Linked DNA regions of Homo sapiens: regions 1, 2 and 3 are each linked to region 4. The links are contacts of gene promoters, found by promoter capture Hi-C in blood cells and fetal thymus (Javierre and others, 2016). All regions are on one chromosome and are shown on one strand. The core of a region is centred on a gene start or on the middle of the fragment in contact, and the rest is flanking DNA. Distances in the headings are between cores, read along the strand shown. Region 1 overlaps ADAMTS3 (ADAM metallopeptidase with thrombospondin type 1 motif 3). Region 2 overlaps ADAMTS3 (ADAM metallopeptidase with thrombospondin type 1 motif 3). Region 3 has its middle 76 kb from the start of GC. Region 4 holds the start of ENAM (enamelin).

Region 1 (6,572 bases), core at 3,881-6,380, 1.7 Mb before region 4:
GCTGTGGTGTAGCCATCCTGATAATCCCTACTTTTGTAAGACTAAAAAGGGACCTCCACTTGATGGGACTGAATGTGCTGCTGGAAAAGTGAGTATATCTATTTACACAATAAATATGTAAGATATGTTGCATAATTATCATCTTTAAAGGTCTGGAAAATGGTAAACACAGCTGCACTGTCATTTTTATGAAAACCATAGTATGCAAGGCTTTATTAAAGTAATGTACTAAAATAGTGTACTAGTTCCCTGTGGCTAAGGTAACAAATTTTCACAAACTTGTTGGCTTGAAACAATGGATATTTATTCCCTCACAGTTCTAGAGGCCAGAAGTCAAAAATCAATTTCAATGAACTGAAATCAGTGTGTGGGCAGGGCCATTCTCCCTCCAAAGGCTGTAGTGGAGAATCTTTTCTTTGCTTCTCCCAGCATCTGGTGGCCACCCCACATTTCTTGATTTGTGGCTGCACCACTCCAGTTTCTGCTTCTGTGGCCACATTGCGTTTTCCTCATCTTTATGGGTCAAATCTCCTTCTACCCCTCTCTTATAAGGATACATGTAACAGCATTTAGGACCCCATGGATAATCTGGGATAATCTCTCCATTTTAAAATATTTAAGTTAATCACATTTGCAAAGACCCTTTTTCCAAATAAGGTAACATTTACAGGTTCCGGGGATTAAGACTTGATATCTTTGGGACTACCATTCAGCCCACTGTTGGCAGAATAGGAAGAAGCAACTCAGCAGACTATCTGCCCCCTGGTAGTGGGATCTGATTGACTTGCTGGCATGCCATTCCTTGTGAAAGTTGCCCAGAAATAAAGTCATGTGAACTTATACAGAAGATTTGGCCTTGTTCCTTAGGGAAGGATGCCCAGAGGTTTTAAATCTCAAATTGTGTAGTCAGGATTGAATGCTCAGAAATTGGCTGAGTGCCAAGCTATGCTACTCATAAGGGCAAAGATCCCAAAACAAAGGCATGTTAAGAACTCAAGTTGAAAAGCTTTGACTAGTTTAGAAATAAGAAATTGTAGGCAGGACCAAAACCTGGTACAGAAGATTTATATGGCATTTACTTCTTTTAAAGCTCAATTTCAAATGTGTATAAACTGTACTTGTGACAGGGATTATATGCATAATAATAATAAAACCTGTCTTTTTAAGTGTTTGCATTATATTAGGCACTATGCAAAGCACCTTGTATACAATGTTTTGCTTTGGGAAAATTCAATATCATAAACTTCTGACTAAAAACAAGAGTATAACGAGTTAATTCATTTTTGCTTTATAAAAAATTATATAATTAACTTTTTAACATTCAACTTTCTTAAATATATTGGTGTTATATTGAAATTTATAGAAGTTGAGTTTTAACAAATGCTTTTATTGTACGTAGTGTGAAAAAGTAAGTCAAAATGTTAGAGAGGAAAATGGCTAATGTCTCTTGAGCACCATGCCAGGCACTGTAAGCTAGGTGCCTCTATAGTATTAGGGTTCTGGTAGCCCCACTTAATTACTTCTTGGTCAGATGGCCTTCAACTACTTATGAACCTTTCTGGGCCTCAATTTTCCTCATCTAATTGTTGATGATATATGTATGACCCATCTATCTCTCAGAATCATTGTTAATGAAACATTTTAAAAGTTAAATAAAAGTGCTTTGAAAGCTGCATATGTTTTAGACATGTTATATTATTATCTAAACCAAGACATAGTTTATTTTATCATTTTTAAAAAGATCATGTAGCCCTCAAAATATTCTGGTATGATATAGGTAGTGACAGATGAAGGGTAAAATCTTACCAACTGTGCAAGCTGGGTGCTCAAAGAGTTCTTATTGATTATAGTGTTTGATGCTTACTGGTGAATGTATCATTTAAAAACTTGTCTGAGTGAATGTTGTTTTTCCATTTTAATTTTCTACTTGAAAAATACAAGTCTAAATTACCCTTTAATAGGGTATATTAATGACATAATTGCTTTTGGATAATTTTAAATGCATCTCCACCTGGAAGAAAAAAGAGCAGTAAGAAAGCCCTTCAACTAGATGGTTCTTGTATAACAACTTCAGCTTTAGTGTATGCGTGATTTTAATAATTACCTTTTGTCATTTTTCTAAGTGGTGCTATAAGGGTCATTGCATGTGGAAGAATGCTAATCAGCAAAAACAAGATGGCAATTGGGGGTCATGGACTAAATTTGGCTCCTGTTCTCGGACATGTGGAACTGGTGTTCGTTTCAGAACACGCCAGTGCAATAATCCCATGTGAGTATATCCTTGTAACTCTTGTTATTTTTGGAGAGACCAGAAAATACTTCAATATTATGTTATTAGTATTCTGTTTTATAAAGTGCATGTAAAACACAGGGCAGGAAAATAAATTGTTCACAGTTCATAAACCAGTCTGTGTTTTTGATACATCTCCATTTATTAATCTTGTGACAAGCAGTCAGTGATGAAGAAGATCAAACGAAGATTGAATATTTTTAAAGAAGTTGCTGTTCAGGAATATTAAGAAGCTGAACAAGGAAAGTAGGTCACTGTGCCCTAAGGGCGTGGGCATGGGCACTGCGAGATTGACTGCCAGAAACAAGAGAGTGTCCAGGAAAGAGCGGTACCAAGCATACAGACTCTCTCTCTTCAGGGAGTGGAATGTGATTGCTTCAGAGGAAGGCAAAAGAAAGATTGTGATAGAAGGCCAGGTGACTGTTGGGGGAAAGTTATCTATTCATTCACTCAGACTACAATTACTGAATTCCCTATTGTGTGCTCAGCAATCTTTACGAAGAAAAAAACAACTGAATTCTCACATTTAGAGGATTCTGCCTTGTCTAGGGTTTAATATGTGAGCAGCTTTTTCTCTCTGTTTCTGGCAGCAGGATGTCTCTGAGCACGTCTTTTGTAAGACTATCTGATGCCACATACCTGCCTTCCCAGTAAGAGATGATGGTGGTATTAGAAGTAACAAAGACAATAAAAATTAAAAGATCAGCTAAAGTTCATTATGAGCCAGAGTTGTTAGGAGTGCTTTAAATAATGTCAACTCATTTAATCTTCACAGTTTTCCTCAAAGGAAGATACATTATTATTTGCATTTTACATATGAGGGAACCGAGCCATGGAGCGATGACCAAAGTTTCTTTGAGCTGCATCTGTGTGTTTTATACATGGTAGCAAAATATCATTTTATTGATTCAATATACATGCTTTTTTTTTCTTACACACTTTTGCCATGCATTTAAAATATATGATTTGAAAAGCTGATTTAAGTTGAGCTTTGTGTTTTGTTTTATTTTTCCACCCAGCAGGGAGAGAAGGGTGCTTTGGAAAGGGACTGAAATTAGGAAGTATGAGTTCATTCACTTTGTGCTGGCAGCCCAGAAACTTTGGCTTTGTGCCCTCAAGCACTGTGTCTGCAAGCTTCAACTGCTAGACAGAAGCCAAAAGGCCTTTTTAAATGTTGTCTTTTCTTTAGGCCCATCAATGGTGGTCAGGATTGTCCTGGTGTTAATTTTGAGTACCAGCTTTGTAACACAGAAGAATGCCAAAAACACTTTGAGGACTTCAGAGCACAGCAGTGTCAGCAGCGAAACTCCCACTTTGAATACCAGAATACCAAACACCACTGGTTGCCATATGAACATCCTGACCGTGAGTAGCCTCGTGCTCTCCTTCCTGCTGTGTGGATGGTTACTCACAGTTTAAGCTTTGCCAGCACGAACCCCATGGACTCTTGATCCCTATGTGGTAACTTAGGAAACTTGGTGCTTATAGGAGTAAGTTCTCCTGGGTTTCTAAGAATAAGGCTTAAATACCCTTTCTCTAAAGAGGTAAGAATGGTGCAATAGTTCCTGGCAAGCAGCACTATCACCATCAGCGGTGAAAAGACCAGTGGAAAGGAACGCCTGGGAGAGATGTTGGAATTCCTGATTCAACCGAAATCCCTCTACTAGGAAATACTTCTGGAATATTGTGATCTTTCCTTTCTGAACTAGAGAAAAATATAGTTCTTTGAAAATTGAGTCAGGACCAAGAGAAAGATCATAATTTAATAACAAAAGATACCTTATAACCTTTTACTTTTTTACTATAGTTTAAAGATATATTTGGAAATTTTCTTTTAATGTTTCACTTCTTACTTCTGAATTTTTGGTTAAATATGTCCAATGGCAACTTTTTGCCATACTTCTTATTTGAGTGAATGAAAGGAAATAGTTATATGATTACATGCACCACTGGGTTCAGTTCAAATCCATGTTAAAGGAAAGAGGAATACACGTTAAGAATTCAAAGTTGCAATGCATTAAGAAGAAATGCATTGTTTTTATCTATTTTGGTGAAGTGAGTTGCATCCTGTAAGAGGCAAAAACTATGTTAGATGATTGAGTCAAATCACAGACATTCTTTCAGTGCTCTAATATTACGAAAACTAAACTGGTTTTGAATTAAGATTTATTTAAGAGCTATGTTGAAATCTAGGGTTGCCTGGGGCAGTCCCAGTTTATACCTGTTGTTCCTGCTCAGTTATTACTAGAACCCCTTTTCTAGTTTAGATGACAAATTTTATGGTCACCTTAGCTAAAAAAAAAATGTCAAATGTACATACTTTCCTCCTTACTCCTTATTTTATTTGTTTATACGGTATTCCTTTTGTTTTCAGGAAATCACAGTGAAACCTTATATTTAAAAATAAAATAAACTATGCTGTTCAAACATTCCATTTTATGTAAATAGTTAATTTTATCCTCCATCTTATGCAGCCAAGAAAAGATGCCACCTTTACTGTCAGTCCAAGGAGACTGGAGATGTTGCTTACATGAAACAACTGGTGCATGATGGAACGCACTGTTCTTACAAAGATCCATATAGCATATGTGTGCGAGGAGAGTGTGTGGTAAGTTCAAATTGCTTCCCCAAAGGCTTTCTACGTTATCTACGTTTACTGTCATTCATCTGCACATTTTTAATTTTTTAAACTATTTTATCTTTGAAATCACATTATAGTAAGTGTCTATGAATAGTTCAATAGCTAAAATAAATTTGAGAGACATTGTACTTTCTCAAATCAAACTTTGGTCACTGGCAGAATCAAGGTTTAAATAATTTTCCTAATTTCCAGCCAAATGCCTTTTCTGAGTAACTCTGAGGCCTCTAGGTTGGGAATACAAATTGGTAATAATGCATTTGCTTCGGGTATTTTAGTAGCCATCTGCTATTAAAATACAAGGTCTTTTTAAAAATAATCAGTGCTAAGTATATTTAATCTTTTGTTGTAAAGATAATAAGACATTTCTTTCTCACCTTCCAATCAATTCTAAGTTTAAAGGCTAAATTTCACATTAGAACAAAAGTAGTAGAGAAGCAAACATGTTTTTTTGCTCCATTTAATCTCAGGTTAAAAATGCATTTTATTTCTTGTGTTCATAGTTAAATCGATATGAAATTATCTTATTAACTGAAACACTGCTCCTAACATATATTTCCTTTATACTTCATCAAAACTGAAGTGCTGTATTAATGAGTCTAAAGTAATTGAGCTTACATTTTCCTGAAAGCATAGTATGTGTTGTTCAGCTTTTACCTGCCGCAGTACCTAGTACATTAAACGTATGTGTTGTCTTTATTTTCCCTGCCACCTTTCATCCCATACTTTTGAGTGCAGTAGTGTATTGTGTATCATTATTCTACAGTGATTTACATTAAGAACATGCCTTGGTTCAGAAAACCTTCAATATTTTCCTGTTTCAAGGGAAAATGTAAATTCTTCCTGGTATTCAAGTCTTCTGCAGTCTATTCAATGCAGATTTTTCACTGTTCTTTCCTTATCATGAAACACTAACCTTCCATTGGTTTAAATATGGGTTTAGATATTGACCTCTGCACCCACTTTCCATGAACATACTTCTCTGGCTTTGTTGTAACTCATCTGCTTTCCTGAAATGCTTTTCTATTCTGTGTTTCTTTGGCCCCTGTGAAAATCTTCACCACCCTGGTGAAGTTTTGTCTCACATCATAACCATCTTTTAAAGATTGCACTAATATACAACTCACTATATTATCCATCATCATAAATGTGAGAGCAGCAAGGGAAAAGCACTGTCTTGTTGTTTTCTTGTCTCCTCAGCATCAGCTACATCTGTTTTCATTACATGTGTGTTTGATGACTATGACAATTTAAAATGGTGTAAATATTTCATTGGACTGGAGGAAATATATTCTTTATTACTTAGGGTACAAGTCATTTGGTTTCCCATTATTTTTTTTAAAAAACTGAGGTATTAAAAATTATGACTACAGTGGCAGTTTGCTATAAATTGGCTGACTGTGGGCCATGACTGAACAAAGGGTTCATCATTCTCTGGGATGTTGACCACTACTGGGCACACTAAAATTAGCCACATTTGACATCTTCTCTCTCCAGAAAGTGGGCTGTGATAAAGAAATTGGTTCTAATAAGGTTGAGGATAAGTGTGGTGTCTGTGGAGGAGATAATTCCCACTGCCGAACCGTGAAGGGGACATTTACCAGAACTCCCAGGAAGCTTGGTAAGATGAGGTCTCTCATGGAT
Region 2 (6,814 bases), core at 993-3,492, 1.7 Mb before region 4:
GTAACCTTCTGTTTTCACTGTGGTTTCTTTCTCTCTTGATCATGTCTATTGTATCCAGTTAAGTCTGGTTCACATTCTACAGAGGATAAACCTCATGTCTTCTGCGTTGGAGGAGGGCAAATCACCCTGTATGGTTAAGAATCAGGAGGTCTAACTGCTTCCAAACAGACTTTTCATTAGTTATCCTGCTTTCAGTCTTGGCTTCACCCTTGTTTTCACAGCTCACACTGAATCTAAGGCCTCTAATCCCTAAATATTTCTAAAGTTCTACAGTGCAAGTCAGTTTGCTCATCACCTTGTACTGCTGAGTTGGACTTCATTCTTCTTAGATCTGCTGAGTTAGTTTCCATATGTCCATCTGTCTTCTAGGTTCCAAAATTATGTTGCTGTGACTTCCTCTCAAATTTCTTTGTCTTTCTAGATTTATAACATTTTTGTCATTTACTTTCATTCTGAGATCTTAGGAGGGAATGGAGGTAATCAGAAGTACCTATATCTGTGAAGTATAATATTTGTCTTCAAAAGAGAGTCATCACTGAAGTCTTCAAAATTGAGCAAAATTCCTCAGTCCAGTTGCCTTGAGACATTCATTTTACCACCAGTTTGACAAGCTAAAGCAGTCTTAAACTGTGAATACCAAAGACTGCCAAGGTTTTAGCATGGTTATATTTTGGTGCCTCATATATATGGAAAGAAAAATAAATTGCAGAGGGAAAGTAACTTTGGAAAAGGCAAATCCATTTTAGCCTGAATTACATACAGACAGCTTGCATAACCAGATGGAGTCAATGGTGACCACCCTTTGGGACTTGGTAACCATGTGTACTGGAGAACTGTGTGTAATGTTGTATCCACAGCTGATTTGGAGAGTGCTTGGGACACTGACACTGACATTAGAATTTGGGAATGTCCCCTGGTTAATATTTTGGAAAATGCCTCTGGAAATGTTTCTATCGGGTGCATTTGTGTGAACAGTTTTTACCCAGCCCCAATGCACACCACCCTTACCTCTTGTCAGGCCCAGTAAGGGCCAATAAGAAGAACTGCATTATCCAAACAGTATAGATATGTCAAGTAGCCTTCATAGCAACAACTGTAGAAATAAAACAGTCATATCAGTTAAAATATTTAAACATGAGTGAACTCTCCAGATTTTATAAAAATGTGCCCTCGTCCAACCCAGAAAAAGACATGAGGTGTATCCTCTGTAGAATGTGAACCAGATTTTTAACTATGTATAATAGACATGACCAAGAGAGAAGGAAACCATAGTGAAAACAGAAGGTTATGTAAAGAAATCGTAAGTGTGTCTTAGCAACCATTAGATGGATTCTGTTTTAAAGATTCACTGTCAGATGTTTAACACCATTAGGCAATGTAACTGAGAGTGAGTTGGTGCTATCCTTGAAAACTGCCTTCATGCCTGAATCTAACAGGGCAACTTTAAGATGAGTTTCAGAAACCCTCTGTAGATCATCCTTTAGGAAAGAAGAAGATTTCAGAGTCACTGAGAGGCAGAAAAAAATAGGGCATTAAAAGTTTCAGCCACATCCTATTTGAGAAATAGGAAAACTTTTACACCGTTGGTGGGACTGTAAGCTAGTTCAACCATTGTGGAAGTCAGTGTGGCGATTCCTCAGGGATCTAGAACTAGAAATACCATTTGACCCAGCCATCCCATTACTGGGTATATACCCAAAGGACTATAAATCATGCTTCTATAAAGACACATGCACACGTATGTTTATTGCGGCACTATTCACAATAGCAAAGACTTGGAACCAACCCAAATGTCCAACAATGATAGACTGGATTAAGAAAATGTGGCACATATACACCATGGAATACTATGCAGCCATAAAAAAGGATGAGTTCATGTCCTTTGTAGGGACATGGATGAAATTGGAAATCATCATTCTCAGTAAACTATCGCAAGGACAAAAAACGAAACACCGCATGTTCTCACTCATAGATGGGAATTGAACAGTGAGAACACATGGACACAGGAAGGGGAACATCACACTCTGGGGACTGTTGTGGGGTGGGGGGAGGGGGAGGGATAGTATTAGAAGATATACCTAATGCTAAATGATGAGTTAATGGGTGCAGCACACCAGCATGGCACATGTATACATATGTAACTAACCTGCACATTGTGCACATGTACCCTAAAACTTAAAGTATAATAATAATAAAATAAAAGTTTCAGCCTACTATTGTTAAAAAGTTATCCATTATATCCATCTTTCTGAAACCACTTCCTGAACTGCAGTGTGCCCACTAGGTTGCAAGTCACTTAGAGAGCAGAAAAGTCTAGGCTTTGCAGGTAGAAATGTGTACACTATACATACCAGTGATAATTGCAATATTAAATCCCCGCACCCACAGCTGGGTAGCAGAAGAATGGGAACACTGCACCAAAACCTGTGGAAGTTCTGGCTATCAGCTTCGCACTGTACGCTGCCTTCAGCCACTCCTTGATGGCACCAACCGCTCTGTGCACAGCAAATACTGCATGGGTGACCGTCCCGAGAGCCGCCGGCCCTGTAACAGAGTGCCCTGCCCTGCACAGTGGAAAACAGGACCCTGGAGTGAGGTAGGTGTGTGAATTCCGTGCATGCATAAGTAAAGTGTGTGTGTAAGCATGTGTAGATATTTTAATTTGGCTTAAACATCAGTTAGGCTTTGTGTGAACTGAGAAACTACTGCATATTTTGTAATTACCTGGAGGTGTTAGGAAAAATTAATGCTTTAAGACAGTACATGTTAGGGGCAAACCATGTTTATGTGTTTCATAACATAGAGAAGAAGTCTGAAAGATGACTGTTCTTTTGTCTAATATTTTTGTTGACTTCCCTATTCCTTCAGTATAAATTCCAAACCCCTGATATTGAATGCAGGGCCCAGCACCATTTGGCACTGCACTAACTCCTCTTATTCTTTCTTCATTCCAACTCTTTGTCCCAGTTCGAGTAAACTTCACACTGTTCCAAACAGACCATGCTTGTTTGAGCCTCCTACCTTTCAGCTGACTTGTACTCCCCCTCCTCCTACCTGATAATCTCTCCTTCTCCACCAAACCTCATCTCCGTAGTCCAAATGACCACCTTCCAGGTGGTACCTTTCCTGGCAGTTCCTCCTGTATATCTGAAATGCAGTACAACTTAACTTTACCATGCTGTTCATGACAGAGTATTATAACTCTGATTCTTGAATCTATATTTGCCACTAGTACACACATTTCTCAAAAATAGTATGCCTTGTTTCCTCAGCACTCAGCTAGTGCCTAGCATACCTGTCCAGATGATGTTTGTTTGCTAATTGGCTGACTCAATGTTGCATTGTCAGCTATTACCACCTGTCTTAGATATTTCTAAAGACTCAAAATAAGAAATCTTGGGGTCATAGGAGAATAGTTTATAGGAGGAAAGGGCATGAAAAAGCAGACAGAAGACTAAAGAGTAAGTGGAGAATAAGCCCAGAAAGGAAGAAACAAGCAAGTTGTCTTATCTATTTCTTGCTGCTTTAACAGAATTCCACAGATTGGGTAATTTATAAAGAACAAAAGTTTATTTGGCATATGGTTCTGGAGGCTGCAGAGTCCAAGAGTATGGCACTGGCATCTGGAGAGGGTCTTCCTGTAGCTGAAGGCATCACATGGCAAGGAGGCATGCAAGAGAGACACAGAGGATCCTTCTATCAGTAGCCCATTCCTGCAATAACTAACCCATTCCCAAGATAATAGCATTAACCCATGCCCATAAATCACCTCAGAAAGGTCCCACCTCTTAAAGGTCCCTCTCAACATTGTTACAATGGCAGTTAAATTTCAACCTGAGTTTTGGAGGGGACATTCAAACCATAGTACAAGTGCAGGTCACCCACATAGGATGATAATGATAACACATATCAAAGTCTCAGTAGAAGTCCCTCCTCCACAGCACCTTCCTAGGGCCATTACATGGAACTTTCTGAGCTTAGTTTTAGAGCAGTAAACCTTTTCATTAGAGAAATGAACTTAAGAGCACAGAGAAATAGTAGTTCCAAGGATGTTGAATTAACCATCCAAGGCAACTTATCAGTAAATTCTGCTATCTGTAAGAAAGAAGTGAGGACTGTCAATACTATGATTGGGTCCCTGAGAACAGACATCATCAACATTGTATTTAGAAACTACAGCAGATGTTACCATTGTTATTAATCATGGCTTCTTTCATATGATATGCTTACTAGGTGTCAGGAATTTTGTTACTGCTTTATACACTTTGTTCCTTTGCCTTCATTTAGTCCTAAAACAATCTTATAAGACAGGTATTATTATCCCAGCTTTCCACTAGATAAGGAAGGTGAATCTTATGTAGAAAAAACAATGCTCCCAGGCTGGTAAATAATGGAGTCAGAATATAAACTCAGTAGTATCTGTCTTCAAAACCACTGTGCAGCATTACTTAATAGAGAACCCACTCCAGATCTCTGTGTCTTTGTGTGTGTGTGTGTGTGTGTGTGTGTGTGTGTGTGTGTGTGTGTATGTGCATGGTCTTGGTGCAATAAATGTCTGTAACCACAGCCTTTGTCTCTGCAGTGTTCAGTGACCTGCGGTGAAGGAACGGAGGTGAGGCAGGTCCTCTGCAGGGCTGGGGACCACTGTGATGGTGAAAAGCCTGAGTCGGTCAGAGCCTGTCAACTGCCTCCTTGTAATGGTAGGTGTCACACCAATTGACTTCACTGCTCTGATGTTTTTAAACCTCAAAAAGCAGAATTTCCTTTTGAGAGAAGTTATAGAATTTATATTTGTTTACTGATAAATAACCAAAGGAAAACACCTGTGAAATATTAGTCCAGTTCAGTTCTTTAAGATCAGCATTTGAGGTAATGTCCTACACTTTTTAATTATCATGATCACTATAGCCCTGCCATTTCTGGCTGGTGGCATTGGAGTGAGGGCTGTGCCATGTATATGTAACGTCTATCAATTTGTGTTGCTAATAGGAACCACTTAATTTTTCCTTGTTATATTTAACTATAACTTCACATCTTTATTAAAAGCATAATTTTGCAAAGATTTTGAAATATTTTACTAAAATTATTCAATTTTGATCTGTGGGTAATGTTACTCAACCCTAAAGCCATTTCCAATAACTGTCTGTCCATAGAGTAACTTCAAACAGACACCTTGCACATAGGATAAAATTCAGCATTTGCCTGACCTGCCAACTTGCTGTATGGCAAAAGCAGAGTATATTTTCTTTATTTAGTCAATTTGCTATTTTAAAACAGCAAAATGGGGCCAGGTGCGGTGGCTCATGCCTGTAATCCCAGCACTTTGGGAGGCCAAGGTGGGTGAATCACCTGAGGTCAGGAGTTCGAGACCAGCCTGAACAACATGGTAAAACCCTGTCTCTACTAAAAATACAAAAATTAGCTGGGCATGGTGGCGCATGCCTGTAATTTCAGCTACTTGGGAGGCAGAGGCAGGAGAATTGCTTGAACCCAGGAGACAGAGGTTGCAGTGAGCTGAGATCACGCCACTGCATTCCAGCCTGGGTGACAGAGTGAGACTCCATTTCAAAACATAAGTAAATAAAACAAGCAAAATATATTGGATGGTTTTGGGCTCTATCACTGTCTCCTTCTGCCTCCATTTCCATAGCTCTCTATCCACATCTCTGTCTGTCCTGTGCTCGGTCATCTGTGTCTCCATTTGCTGTCCTCTGTCTCTCTCTTATTTTTGGTGTCTGTCTTGCTCTGTCTCTGATGAGCTGTCACCTGCTGCCTGTATGTGGCTCATTTTCTATGTCAGCCACACATGCTTTTTCGAGGCCTTACTCTTTCTTCTTGCTGTCCTTCCCTCTCCCTCTCCTAGTCTCCCTGGCTGTACCTCCTATCATTCTTTTTCCCTCTCATCTTCTCTCTCCTCCTGCCTCTTCCTGGCTCTCTCTTTCCCCTCTTTCCTTGTTCCATGTGTCTGTCTCCCTTTCTCTCCCATTTTCTCTTTCTCGGTGTCCTCCCCTTCACCCTCTCCCTTTCTCTTTCTTTATCCTCCCCTTCCTCTCCAACTTGGTATGTCTGTCTCTGTCTCTCCATCTCTTCCACCTCTCTCTCTCTCCCTGTCTCTTATCTCCTCCACTGCCTTAGTCTGTTCTAGCTGCTATAACAAAATACCTGAGACTGGGTACTTTATTAAAAAAAAATTATTGCTCAGAGTTCTAAGTCTAGAAGCCCATGATCAAGGCATCAGCAGATTTAGTGTCTGGTGAGGGCTTCCTAGATGGTGCCTTGTTTTTCTGTCCACATGTGGTGAAAAGGGCCAGGGAGCTCCCTTGATTCTCTTTTATAAGGGCATGAATTGCATTCATAAGCGCTCCACCCTGATGGCCTAGTCACCTCCCAAAGTCCCCACCCTGTTAGTACCATTGCCGTGAGGATTAGGTTTCAACAAAGGAATTTTGGGGGCACACATTCAGGCCATACCCACCTTTTTCCTCTCCTTCCAGCCTCTTTTTCTCTACTCCTCCATCTTTTACTCCTTGTGTCTGTCTCTTTCTCCTCCTATCTTTCTCTTCCTAGCCCCTCCACTGACATCTTTTTCTCTTCCTGTCTCATTTTCTCTCCCCAAGTCAGTCTCTCGCCACCCCCATCTGTTTGTTGCACTCTCTCTTCCGTTATATTTTCTTCTCCTGCCTTGTTTTCCTAGCCCACCCATCCCCATCCACCACAACCCTTCTCTTAAATGCAGTTCTGCTAAAGCCACGACAGTGACAACTGTGGACGTTGTTTTCACATATTAGAAGACTCAGGCCTAAAGAAGTTGCTT
Region 3 (6,473 bases), core at 1,519-4,018, 1.1 Mb before region 4:
GTGTGCCTGTTACAGTTGGTGGCTCCTAACACCCTGAACACCCTTCCAGCTAATGATGAGTTTATAGAATTGCTTTGTAAACATGGTCTAATAGGCTGGAAGCCAGAAGATCTACACCCTAAGCCTAGTGTTGTCACCTGCTAGCTGTATAATCTGAAGCAAGTCACTTAACTATATTTGCTTTTCTTTTTTTATAAGTTAGGTCAATTGCCTCTAATGTTCATTTCAGGGACAATATTCTGATTCTAAGCTGGTCATAAAGAAGAGAAAATTGGATTTAACCAGGCCAACTAGTGTTCCTGATCTTTATAAATTCCCACACAGTCTTTGCCTCGCCCTAATCCACATACTTTGCAGTGTGTGAACAACTAAACTGCTTACAGGAGGATTAACTGGTAACATAAATGCAAGGAGTATTCCACCAAATTACATGTAATCATCTTTTTATGTACTTTAGGGCAGGAGTAAACTCTTGCCATTTCAACACATGCTAAATTGGTTAGCTAACAGCCTAAGAAAAAAATTTAAAATAACTTTAAGTGAAACTATAAAATATAAGAATTATATGCTTCATTCAATAAACCTTATATGCAATGGCCTTTAAGTTTACTACAGATGTCACATGAAATAATGATAAAATTAGCAAATGTTGACAGATTAAACCATCAGTAGACAACTGATTGGAAAAATGGGCCAATGGAGGTAGAATTCTGTTTGCAGATACTCAGTTTGCAGCCCTGTGCCACTGAAGGTTATGGCAAATTGTGTCACTGAGTTGATAATAGCTCAACTCTTTAATATGAGATTTTCAAGCACGCTAGAAAGGGGCAGGGGCAGGGGATGATGAGTTTGGGAGCTAAGGCAGCCCTGGGAGAGGCTACTAAGAAGTTAACTTTAATCTCCAAAAAATCAATCCCCTTGGCATCACCTTTCCACCAGGATATTCAGTGTTGTCCATGAAACTTATCACAAAAGTCCTTCAGTTCAAAGCACATCACTTTGCAATCTAATAAAAAATTTTCTATTCAATTCCTGTGTGGAGTAAGATGAGGAAAGCGCATTCTACCTTGTCTCTCCCACTGAATGTAACCAAAGACCTATACAGAATGCACGAAGTAGACATTTGAAGACTCTGAAAAGTAAACAGCAGCAGGCAGATGACTGATGAAGACCAAATTTAAAGTACCCTAAACACTCGTGTGTGTACCATGTTTTCCACTGATGTCCTCTGGCCTAAACTCTAACCAGCCTAAAAACCAGAAGTAGGCATCACTGAAAACAGAAAGAGCTCTAGGGGAAGCCCCATAGTTTAGACTTGAGAAGTGGGCAAGGGGTCACTTGGCAGGGGATGCTGCAAGTATCTAAAATTCTGAGGAATTAGAAACTGTCTCTCCACGTGGGGGAGCTCAGATCCCAAAACCTAAGAGGGTGGGGTGAGCCCCATTGTTTTCTTCCTTCTCTATCATTCTACTACTTAGCCACAGCACTGGTACAATCATCAGAAGTGCCAGGCAGAACAGATTAAATAAAAGTCCAGCTTTCTGGAAGCAAGACTGAAAAGGGGAGCTTCAGGGAACTGGAAAGTAATGGAGATATCATGGAGAGAACCCGAGAAAAGCAACCCAGTAAAGTTGGTTCTGAACTCCTAGGCTGATCTCCAAACTATACAGGCATGGATCTGCCCTAATCAGCATACCAAAGACTCTGAAAACTAAACTAAAAGTTAAATCATCGCCCAGGTCTTAGACTGGCCACCGAATAGTTATACACATAGGTCTGGTCCAAATAACACTGCAAAGACTTTGAAAATAGAAACAAAAGAAGAGATATCATAACAGACCATGGAGGTATTAAAAGAAAAATTAGGAAATACTACGAAGTACTCTATGCACATACATTTTAAAATACAGATGAAATAGACCAATTGCTTGAAATCCACAACTACTTAAACTCATTCAAGATGAAATAGAAAATGGGAAGAGTCTCATAAGTATTAAGGGAATTAATTTTGTAGTTTGAAACATTCCAAACAGAAATTTCCAGCCCCAGATGGTTTCACTGGTGAATTCTACCCCACATTAAAAGAAAAAAATTGCACATATTCCACACAATCTTTTCCAAAATTTTCCACCTTACTTTCTGAGGCCAGCCTTACTCTAATACCAAAACCAGACAAGGATAATAGAATAAAACTACAAGCCAATATTGCTCATGAACATAGATACAAAAATCTTCAACAAAATATTAGCAAATTGAGTATATATATATATGTGTGTATATATATATGTGTGTGTGTATATATATATATATACCATGACCAAGTGGAGTTTATTCTAGGAGTGCAAAGGCAAATTTAAATATCAGTCAATGTATTAGGTTGGTGCAAATTTTGCCATTAAAAGTAATGGCAAAAAAGGCGATTACTTTTGCACCAATCTAACAGTTCACCACATGTAAGAAAAACTAAAAACTCTACAGAAGAAAGACCAAAAATTCAATCAATTAATGCAGAAAAAAGCATTTGACAAATTCAATTCAATTCATGATCCAAAAATCTCAGAAAACTAAAAATAGGAGGAAACTTTCTCAATGTAATACTACTAACATCATATTTAATTGTGAAGGGCTGAATGCTTTCCTCCTCATAATGAGAACAAGGCAAGGGTACAACTCTTACCACTCCTATGCAACACTGTACTGGAAGTCATAGTCAGTGCAATAGGGTGCAAAAAAGGAATAAAATGCATACAGATTTGAAAGAAAGAAATAAAACATTTCCTATTTGCAGATGATATGATTGTCTATGTAGAAAATAAAACCTCCCAGAACTGTGTGTTTAACAAAGTTGCAGTATACAAGGTCAATGTACAAATATCAATCATATTTCTATATACTAGTGATGAGCAATTGAAAAGCAACTTTTTAAAAATACCATTTACATTAACTTAAAAAAGTTATGTGTGAGTTTAACAAAAGATGTACAGGTTCTACAGGGTAAAAATTACAAATGCTGCTGAAAGAAAGCAAGTAAGACTTGAAAATTGAGAGATATACTATGTTCATTGATGGGAAAACTCAACGTACTAAAGATGTCACTTCTCTCAAATTGATCTACTCATACAATGCTATTTCAATCAAAATCCCACAAGATATTTTGTTGATACAAACAATCTGATCCTATAATTTACGTAGAAAAGCAAAGGAATTAGAATCACCCAAACAATTTTAAAGGAGAATAAAGTTGCAGGACTCACATTGCCTGTTTTTAAAACTTCTTATAAAGTGACAGTCATCAAGACAGTGTGTCATTGGCAAAGAGACAGACACATCAATCAAGGGAAAAAAATGAAAAGTCCAAAAATAGACCCACACAAATATGACCAGTTGATTTCTAACAAAGATGTAAAGACAAGTCAATGGGGGAAAATAGTTGTTAAGCAAATGGCATTGGAACAATTCCATATCTATAAGCCAAAAAAAAAAAATCATTACCTAAATCTCATACCTTATGTGTTAATTAACACAAAATGGATCATACACCTAAATGTAAAATTATACAACTTTTAAAAGCAAACATATAGGGTTAAAATTCATAGGCATGTACACCAAAAAAGTCAATTTTACTACATGCTTATTTTAAAAATAAAATTGTTAAAAACCCAACTCATCCTCCGATTCATGTTCATCGCTATAGACAATAAGTAGCAAAAGATCGCATAAGCCTTTTAAAGGGATGACAATGAGATAGTAAAATTTTAACTAAATTTAAATTTTTGACTCCAGAAAAATTTCCTAATGAATAAAAATACCAACTTTTGCTATAAGCCTGCTTGGTTATTTCTCCTCAGTTCACACCATTACACTATGTTTACAAATTTGTGGTCTTGTTGAAGATGTCTGTTATGAGTTTAAGGGCATGGGTAGAGGAAAGCCAGGGTCAAGAAAAGTGTGCTAGCTTATATTCAATAGGCTAAAAGTTTCAGGTGTACCACTATAACTTAATCTCTAACCCACTCAGACTTATCTACGCCCCCTGTGGGGAACATCACTAAAGAACAGAAAAGGTACAAAGAGAAAGATGAGACATCAAAAAAATGAATAGCACAATGTGGCAGATGGTAGGTATATTAGTTTACCATTGCTGCTCTAACAAATTATCACAAACTGAAAGGCTTAAAACCACACAATGTATTCTCTTATCTTTATGTAGCTCAGGGGCCTGACACAGGCCTCACTGGCTAAAATCAAGTTGTGAGCAGGACTACCTTCCATTCTGGAAGCTCTAGGGAAGAATAGGCTGTAAGTAGGGAATAGCTCTGATGGAAAGGAGCCAGGAGAAAGACAATGAGAAAGAGAGAGAAGGAAGGTTGAAAAGATGTTGGAGAGACAGGAGAGAGGGAATAATAGAGCAAAGCTGAAAAGTTGGGAAGGTGAGAAGAGATGGGTCCAGAGTATAAGCAGAGGGATTTTTGGTGACAGAGGGGTGACCACGCCTTTTTCACACTAATAAGAGATGAGGAGGAAAGGATGAGCACAGATATAGGTAGGATTATTTTTGCATGGTGATTGGAAATTGAGGGAAGTTTGTAATGACTAAAGTAACTATGTGTCCTAGCTTGTCTGGAACAATCCTAGTCAATACTCATTGTCTCGGTATAAAGTTATAAGAGCATCCCCTTTGACTCTCAAAGCTGTCTCAGTCTAGATGAGAAATTGTATGGTCACCCAACTTAGAGTGCTTTTTGTTTTTCCTCAGTAGCGTTGGAGATGGGATGTGGGCACAGATTTTAGGAATGTGAAAAGGTATGAAACAGTGGCTGTGGAGAACAGGAGAGCAAGCTGACCACAGCAAAAGAGGATATAAGGCAGCATTACAGGCCCAAGGGATTTGGGACTTCTAGTTTTTAGAGGCATCATTTTATATCTGTCACTGTACAATAACCTGCTAAGACCTGCAATAATGTGCCTACTTAGAAGCAAGGAAGCTGACTCAGAGAGGTCATATAACTTGTTCAAGGACACAGTAATAAGAGGTAGATCTTGGATTCAAAACCAGGTCTTTCTGATTCCAAGATGTGGGTACTTAATCACTACACTTTATTGTCATGGGGCCTCTGGGGGTTTTAGTTAGTTTGAAGTGCTACCTGTCCTCTTGACTACCATGCTATATTGTCTATATTTTCTACATTTGTGATATAGAGTTGTCATTGCTTCAATTATACACATACATCTTTATATTCCAAATCTGTAAATTACAATTTTTGGAAAAGACTTCATTCATACCATGTGAAAATTTGAAAACAAAGCTAAGAGAATGAAGACCCTTGGGTATAAATTATTGCTTTGTGCTCTCAGCTGAATTATTACAACACACTGGTATGAGGAAAGGTCACTAGTAACATGTTACTAATAATAATGATCACAGGGCAGTTTGCATATGACTTATTTTGAAAAAAAGAAATAGAGGAGATTCAAAATCATCTTTACATGTGTACAATGGGAGGAAGGCATGATCCCTATAAGTCTAAAAACCAAGACAAATTTTCTCCTTGCCTTCTCCTAATGCCAGATTTATCAATGATTGTAAAATGCTTACCACTTTCAAATTGCTGTGTATATGCAAGGAGGAAATGGGGAAATATTGATCTGGATTCTTTGAATGTTTAAGAAAAAAACAACCTGGAACATCAAAGCTTTATTGGTATTTTGTGTTGCTAAAAATAAATTTTCTATCACCTTTTGGATAGGAGTTGGGCTTTTAGAGTAAACATTTTCATGAGCCTCTGCTTATGCAAAGGTAATAGAAGATTCTGTTCTGAAATGCTGAATTTGTAATAAAAGAAATCTAACTACTCCAAAAAGCAATGTAAAAGGCTATTTTCTGTGGTCACGGCAGCATTTCTGAAAGATTATCATGGGGTTAACTGGTTTGGTTTCTCTTGGACAGCAAGAATAAAGTTAAAATGAGGTTTTCTCAGTAAGAAAAGTGAATAAATCCTAGAAATTTAGTTGAGGGCTGAGGAATGACTGATAGATTTTAGGAATAGGATTTCTACTTTTCTGCATTGTAATTACCTTATGTTTCCATAAACTTTGTTTATTCAACAGGTTTTTAATGAACTTGTACTATGTGCCAAGCAATATTGCACTGCATGGAGAGTAGTTATGAGATAGCAGGGGTGGGAAAAATGGTGGGGAAGCTGGGCAAAGCCACAGCCAGATGACGGTAAGTTCTATCTGTGGATTCCCAGGACTCATGAAGGAGTCTGCACTGTGTGACTTCACATATGATAAAGACCCAGATGATAATAATTTGGGCATTGAAAGGCAGCCAAATATAAGAAGCTAGTAGGCCCTTGTATTATGTCTATAATAACAAGAATTTAATTCTCAAACTATCAGTTATATTACCTTCAGTAAGAGACAAAAAGATAGCATCAGAAATACTGCTCAGGGAATTAGCTTAAATTTCA
Region 4 (7,213 bases), core at 985-3,484:
CTGAGGACAGGAGCTTGAGACCAGCTGAGCCAACATGGTGAAACCTTGTCTCTACTAAAAATACAAAAATTAGCCGGGTGTGGTGTCTCACACCTGTAATACCAGCCACTTGGGAGGCTGAGGCAGGAGAATCGCTTGAACCCAGGAGGAGGAGGTTGCAGTGAGCCAAGATCGTGCCATTGCACTCCAGCCTGGGCGACAGAGTGAGACTCTGTCTCAAAAAAAAAAAAAAATCACTTATGCTCTAAGATGGTCAGGAAAATAGGAAGAAATAGGAAATAGGCAGAATAGTAAATTTATCTCTTTATTAGATACCTTGATTAAACATATAGACTTATGTATGAAGTTTGGAGATTGTTTTTAACGGGGTTCATTCATTTATCCCACTCTAGTTAATTATGAAAGACTTGTAAAATTAAGTCTCGTATTTACATCTTGGAACAAGGTTTATTCTGAAACATTTACTTGAGTAATTTCTTAAGAAAACTTTCTATTTGCATATACAATAGAGGAAAATAAAAGGTTTTAATCAGAATGATTCATTTTCATCGTATATCAGATATAGTCCATTTCCTAGCAGAGTAACCAACATGTAGACACTCAGTTGTTTTCATTCCTTTCATTCTTTCTTCCTTTTCTGGACATAAAATCTATCTAGCATAATTGGAGCCAATGCTCACCCTTCTGTTTACTTCCTATAGGAGCAACATAAATGACGCTTTAGCATTTTTATAATGGACATTTTCCTAAATTGTGGGTGTAATCAGTTATCTTTCATACATTAGAAAAATTGGCAGAATGTAATTAAACAAAGGAAGCAGTAGTATGTAAATACCTTTCCTACTATTTAAAGATTTTCAGAGTTAGAACATCATAGAGAATGAAAATAACAGCTGAATGTTATTTTAGAGTGTTTAGTATAGGTTACAACAATATGTGGAAACTAATAAAGAGAATACTGGTGAAAGCTTTCTTTGCTAAATGTTTCTAAGATTATGGCCCAAGATTTAAGGGTGCTTTTGGATGGTTAATTTCTGCCTTGCTTAATCATTCATCTCATCTCTCTAGTAGCTGTCACAGTGATTCTTGATAATATATGTAGCCTTTATATTTGCAAATAGAAAACTCATTTTCTCTTTTGTAAAATTAATATATTATGTTGGATGACTGAGATCCCTTCCATCTCTAAAAGTTAGTGATTAAAGTCTATAATTAGTTATTTTTTGAGTTGAAAGTAACACTCATAATGATTGCCACAAAGTACAATGACTGTGTAAGTTCTTCTTCCATTCCATCTGTGAAAGCAGATGCTCTTTGAGTCTTCTGATACATTTCAGTAGTGTTTGGCCCTCTCAAGTGTATTTCTGACAGTATCTAGTTTGAGAACCTGTATGTATTGGCAAAAATAAATGAAAGTACTCACCAAGTTATCTAGTTTAGGAAAAGAGGTTCCAAGCCTGCACCGAAGCACCAACATTTTTTTCAGCAAAATTTTTATAAGCCTTTAAGAAAAATACAGCTTTAACCTGAGAAGAAACTAAAATATAGAAATGGAACAAATAAATGAAATGAATAGCAAAGCTTCAGTTCTAAGGCAGCACATGTCATGTTAATTATTTTATCCAGTCATACCTGTATTAGGGGGCCACAAAATCAAGTTTAATCTTCTGTTGCTTTAAAAGTAGGATGAAAGCTAAATCAGAGAGGAAATGACACAGGCACTGTATTTTGAGATACTTCTAGGGCGATGTTGACAAAACTAGACTTCACTATGGGGAAATGTACAAAGTCACAGTAGTAAAGGAGGTCTAAGAAGGCTGGAAAAAACTTACAAGAAAAACAAATACACCAAATAAACCAAGGAGTTTAAAGTTTTATCAGAAGATTAGTCTGCATACAATGATTATACAACCAACAAGAAGGAATGCAATAAGGAGAATTAACCAACATCTATGAATTAAATTCATTATTTGACACTATATGTAATTTATGTTGATAATCTCTAATACTCACCCAATGCCAATTAGAAGCTGTAATATATAAAAAATAATTTTTACTTGAACTTTGTTAGCTTGCCTTTGAAATATATTCTTAATGGTCTATAGTGGAAATAACTACAAATTGCTGAAGCCAGGGAGATCTCAAGAAGCAAGATACATTTATTTCTTAATAATAAAACAAAAATTCTTCACTCAGATATCATGTTCAGTATCAAAAAGGCTCAAAATAAAAAGATTCCTCCTTGTCAGAAAGCTTGGCACAGCAAGGTTCCATTTAAGCACTGTTGTAGACCTGCATAACCAATCAGCTTTGAGGAAAATGGTTTTGTCATCACAAGAGTTTAAGGTAAAAAACACACATCGAATTTAAAATTTAGAATGTGTTATTATAGGAGCTGTCAAGTCAAGTCTCTTATTACGTATAATAACAGTCCAGGAAAATGAGCTTACAGCAGTAAGATTTAGAAGATGCTTCCCTTGGTGAATTTGGCTTTCAAAGTATAGAAACTATGTTTATAACAAAGATATTTCAGGAACAAAGGCGAATATTAACTGTATGCTATTGTCATAAGTCAGTTGCCTTCATCAAAAGGCAGGCTAATATATATATTTACTTAATATACATTTTATATGTAATTAAAATGAACTGGAATGTTATATCCATGGGTGAAAACTCAGTGACTTGATTTACTTTGTATTACATAAGGCTAGCAGGACATAGTGTTCTTTTTGAAGTCAAATATAATCCAGTCACTGGGGATTCAGAATTTTAGATGAGTTGGGTACAATGGCAAATGAACTCTCAGCTATTATGATAATACAACTTAATGAAAATAGGACCTGAGTAATTTAATGAAACAGTTATGTTATGGATTTTTTTCCTGAAATCTGACTTTCCATAATAAAGATTTCACTTTCAAATAGATAGGCCAATTGCACTTTTAATTGACAAGAGCAAGCTTTGCTATCTTTGCTTAACTTGGATTCTCCTGTTCTCTTATGGCTTCACAAGAGAAAACATTTGTTGTGGCAATGTTTGCTTATTTTAATGTTGGGATTTAAAAACCAAGAATGAATGAACTTGATGGCAAAACCTGTTCCTACTTGGTATGATTGTGTATATAAGTTAATCCAGTGGTTGCCCATGGTGCTGTTCTTCCAAGGACAGAGAAGTGCTGTGTCATTCCTTTTGGGCCAAATAGCATTGTATTTCTCAGTGCCTCTCTGCTCCACATATTTCGTGCCACAAATAATAAAAATGTGCTAGAATATTTGACTTTAAATGAAGCTAGGACTATCTTTTAACTCTATGTGTATCCAAGATGTGCAAAGTTAAATCTGCTTCAAGTACCTGCTTGCCTTTGTCTGATTTTGTAGAAACTGAGTAGTATTTATCATATTGTGTGCACATTGAGATGAATTTGCAAATGGTAGGACACTTACGGGACAGTGACCTACAGTGTGTTCTTGGAAGTGAAATGGGAGTTCTGATGCTGGATGACCTGGCCTATCCTGTGCCCATTCATGTAGAGGGTAATTTTTGATTTTGGCCTTACCCATATAGGTTGTTGGGAGTTGCCACTAAACCTCACTTTTGATCACTTTCCTCTATTTACCCTTGTTCTCTTGGCCACAAGGGTGGTTAGTTGTCATGAAATAATTCATGTTTCTAAAATCCAGCCAAGCTATTGAATGAGTGAATTCTTAGTACTGTTGGATTGGATTGGGAGAATTACCAAATTTCCTTTCATTTAAAGGAAAAAAAAAAGCTCAAACTTTATAATTTTTTTTTTTTTTTGAGACAGAGTCTGGCTCTGTCACCCAGGCTGGGGTGCAGTGGCGCGATCTTGGCTCACTGAAACCTCTGTCTCCTGGGTTCAAGTGATTCTCCTGCCTCAGCCTCTAATGTAGCTGGGATTACAGGCATGAGCCACTGTGTCCAGCCTATAAAATGTTTTGAAATCAGTCCTTTATGAGTTTTTCCCCCTTTACTTTATCTCTATTTATTTTGTAAATTATTTTTCCCTTCAGGCAATTACAACTGTTTGTGAAACATGTTTATGATTTGGCTTAAATTTTTTTTTTTAATGTATCTCTTTGATTTTTTTCTCTACATTACCCTTCTCAGTCTTAAAATAAGATGTGTTAACCTGGGAGCTGAAACCTAAGAAATTGCATATAAGAATTTGTGCATTTGTGTGTAAATGTACCATTTTTTTCTCCCCCTGAAAAAGAACCCATATTCTCCAGGGGGCCTGTGAACTTCTTCCTTTGCCTCCACTCTTTAAGGTCCCCTCATTGCTCTAGATTTTAAGCCAGCAGGAGCAGAAAAGTCTTTTGATTTCATACTCTAGATGTAAGGGAAAGAGGCTGGGTTTTGAAATTGCCAGATCTAAGTTTAAACCTTCCACAAATTATCCAGCTGTTCAATTTCCTGTTCAGTAAAATGAGGGCAATATTACCTTCCTCATAAGTTTCCTCTAAGAAATGAATGAAGTAATAAATATAGCTTGGGCCACAAAGTGGGACTCCATCTCTACAAAAAAATATATTAACCAGCCACAGTGGTGTGTGCCTGTAGTCCCAGCTACTCGGGAGGCTGAGATGGGAGGACAAGAGGGCTCCTCAAGGAGCCCAGGAGGTCAAGGTTGCAGTGAGCTATGATCGCACCGCTGCCCTCCAGCCTGGGTGAGGCAGAGAGAGACCCTGTCTCAAAAAAAAAAAGTGAAATGCCTGGCTCCTAGTAGCCGACTATCAGTGACTGACTGATCAATACACAAAGGTACTTCATTGTTCCACATTACACCTTATAATGATTTACTAAGGATTTAAGAACAATAAATTCAGCCATAGTTCTCATAGTTCTCAGAGCAAATAGATCCTCCAAGTACAACTATGAAGGTAAAGTTCTGTGGATTAGTATTAACAGAACACTCCAACACTGCAGGATCACTGAATGAAGCGCCTGAGACAAAGTAGTGTCTTAGGGATCCATTACTGGTGCCAAATAGTGTCTAAGCATCCACAACCTTGAATTCTTTCTGAAACCATTCATTCCTATAGCCTGTTCTCAGGCTGTAAATGCGAGAGATCTTTCTATCAGAAGAGAAGAGGAGGCGCAGTTTAATTCCTCACAAATTAAAGGACTGATAATGCTTTATTCCATAAACATTTTCTGAGCTTTCTCTTCATGCAAGCCCTGACTTGGGTGCCCACCCATCCTGCACAGAATATTACGATAGCAAATTTTCTGAGCTAGAACTCAGTGGTGGGTTCAAATTCTGATTTCTACAACTTACTTGTTTTAGAATTTTGGTCAAATGACTTAACCTCTTTAAACCTCAGTTCCTCATTTGTAAATGGGAGACAACATTCTTTTCATGGGTTTGTTAGGCAGATCACGAGGTCAGGAGATCAAGACCATCCTGGCCAACATGGTGAAACCCAGTCTCTACTACAAATACAAAAATTAGCTGGGCTTGGTGGCACGTGCCTGTAATCCCAGCTACTTGGGAGGCTGAGGCAGGAGAATTGCTTCAACCAGGGAGTCAGAGGTTGCAGTGAGCTGAGATGGCGCCATTGCACTCCAGCCTGGGCGACAGAGCAAGACTCCGTCTCAAAAAAAAAAAAAAAAAAAGGAATTTAATGAGATAACTTAAAGTTCTTAATATATACTTCAACTAAATATTATAAATAAATAGATAAATGTTACCTATTATTATCATTAGAGCTTTCTCAATAGTTGTTTTATTACTGCTCACTGTCACATTTCCTAAAGATTTCTGAAGAATGTTTCACATCATTGTGCTTACTTATTCATTAAAAAAAGACAGCAAACAAAAAGCCTCCCAAAGAAAAACTGAGCATCTTCATAGAGTATAGAAAAAAGGAAACTAGGCCGGGCATGGTGGCTCACGCCTGTAATCCCAGCACTTTGGGAGGCTGAGGCAGGTGGATCACCTGAGGTCAGGAGTTTGAGACCAGCCTGGCCAACATGGTGAAACCCCATCTCTACTAAAAATACAAAAAAATTAGCTGGGTGTGGTGGCGGGTGCCTGTAATCCCAGCTATTCTGGAGGCTGAGTCAGGAGAATCACTTGAACCCGGGAGATGGAGGTTGCAGTGAGCCGAGGTTGCATCATTGCACTCCAGCCTGGGCATCAAGAGTGAAACTCCATCTTAAAAAAAAAAAAAAAAAAAAAGGAAAAAGAAAAGAAAATAAAAAGAAAGAAAAAGAAAAAAGGAAACTAGATCACAGTGTTTGTCAGATTTTATTTAATTTAAATTCTACTTTTTGTCTACTAATAAGAAAGTTGCTCAGTGAAGTCAATGAGTAACTATTGTTGGGTGGTGATTTATTAGTATTTGGATAACCCTCAGAGGTGGTGTTTATTTCCTGGGCTTCTAGCAGTAAGAACTCTCTTATATGTACTCAAGATCAGCTTCTTTCTCTCGTCACCTTGAGAAGAAAATAAAACCCAATGGTTAAGAAAACAGGCATTGGGGTTGGAAATACTGAATAATGTATACACTGTGCTTACAACAGTGCCTGACCCAGTAAGTGTTTCAGATGGGTTAGGTGTCATCTCATCATGGAAATAATACATTATATCTCATTACATTTCTTACAACAATTTTATGGTTTATTTCCTCCTTTGCCATAAAAAGAAGTATGTAACACTCTGTGTTTTCCTGTCACTCTGGTTACTAGGAAACTCAGAGCTAAATTTGATTCCTACTTAACAGAGGATCCAGGTTATATGAAGCCAAAGCTAATTAGATTTTAAGGGATCTCTTTAAGAAAATGAACACAAAGTTAGGTACAAGCGTAAATATTTGTTTTGATGAACTATAGAAATGATCCCTGAAAGTACGGTCTTAATATTTGTTTTCATACGACAATAAATTGTAACAAATTTCAGATTTTAAAAAGGTGACAAATAGTACAAATATCACAAAATCCAGAAAAGCAACTTAATATTTTTCCTAACTGCCTGATGCACCACCATAATAACATCTGATTCCATACATTTCAAGCCTTACTTTCCCTCTACCACATACATTTCTAGTGCCAGCTTCAATGGACACATTCATATGGAAATATGAGCCCTGATCCTGCACCTTCGGGTTGCATGTTGAATGAGTAGGCATTCAAAGTTAGGCATGGGAGGTAGAAATATTTCTGGAAGCTGTTCCTAGATGAGGAGGGCCAG

The links. The method cuts DNA at HindIII sites, captures the fragments that hold promoters and counts their contacts. A CHiCAGO score of 5 or more calls a contact.
Region 1: a contact is called between a fragment that was not itself captured here and the fragment with the promoter of ENAM in region 4, in 1 of 17 cell types (total CD8 T cells). The highest score is 5.1, in total CD8 T cells.
Region 2: a contact is called between a fragment that was not itself captured here and the fragment with the promoter of ENAM in region 4, in 6 of 17 cell types (total B cells, naive CD4 T cells, non-activated CD4 T cells and 3 more). The highest score is 9.2, in total B cells.
Region 3: a contact is called between a fragment that was not itself captured here and the fragment with the promoter of ENAM in region 4, in 10 of 17 cell types (fetal thymus, total CD4 T cells, M2 macrophages and 7 more). The highest score is 12.5, in fetal thymus.

What each region holds. Positions count from the first base shown.
Region 1 is chr4:72,309,374-72,315,945 of GRCh38, reverse strand. It overlaps ADAMTS3 (ADAM metallopeptidase with thrombospondin type 1 motif 3), which reads left to right. Exons shown (of 22, transcript NM_014243.3): 11 at 1-88; 12 at 2,124-2,269; 13 at 3,480-3,655; 14 at 4,765-4,898; 15 at 6,426-6,549. Among named protein-coding and RNA genes, the nearest start is that of ADAMTS3, 260 kb to the left of the region's middle. The HindIII fragment of the contact is 2,835 bases long and covers 3,713-6,547 here.
Region 2 is chr4:72,286,637-72,293,450 of GRCh38, reverse strand. It overlaps ADAMTS3 (ADAM metallopeptidase with thrombospondin type 1 motif 3), which reads left to right. Exons shown (of 22, transcript NM_014243.3): 20 at 2,389-2,596; 21 at 4,583-4,700. Among named protein-coding and RNA genes, the nearest start is that of NPFFR2, 260 kb to the right of the region's middle. The HindIII fragment of the contact is 9,952 bases long and covers 1-6,814 here.
Region 3 is chr4:71,705,098-71,711,570 of GRCh38, reverse strand. No RefSeq gene overlaps it. Among named protein-coding and RNA genes, the nearest start is that of GC, 76 kb to the left of the region's middle. The HindIII fragment of the contact is 5,854 bases long and covers 1-5,695 here.
Region 4 is chr4:70,623,765-70,630,977 of GRCh38, reverse strand. ENAM (enamelin) reads right to left here and starts at 2,234. Exons shown (of 9, transcript NM_031889.3): 1 at 2,014-2,234; 2 at 1,424-1,537. The coding sequence starts at 1,477. The HindIII fragment of the contact is 672 bases long and covers 1,584-2,255 here.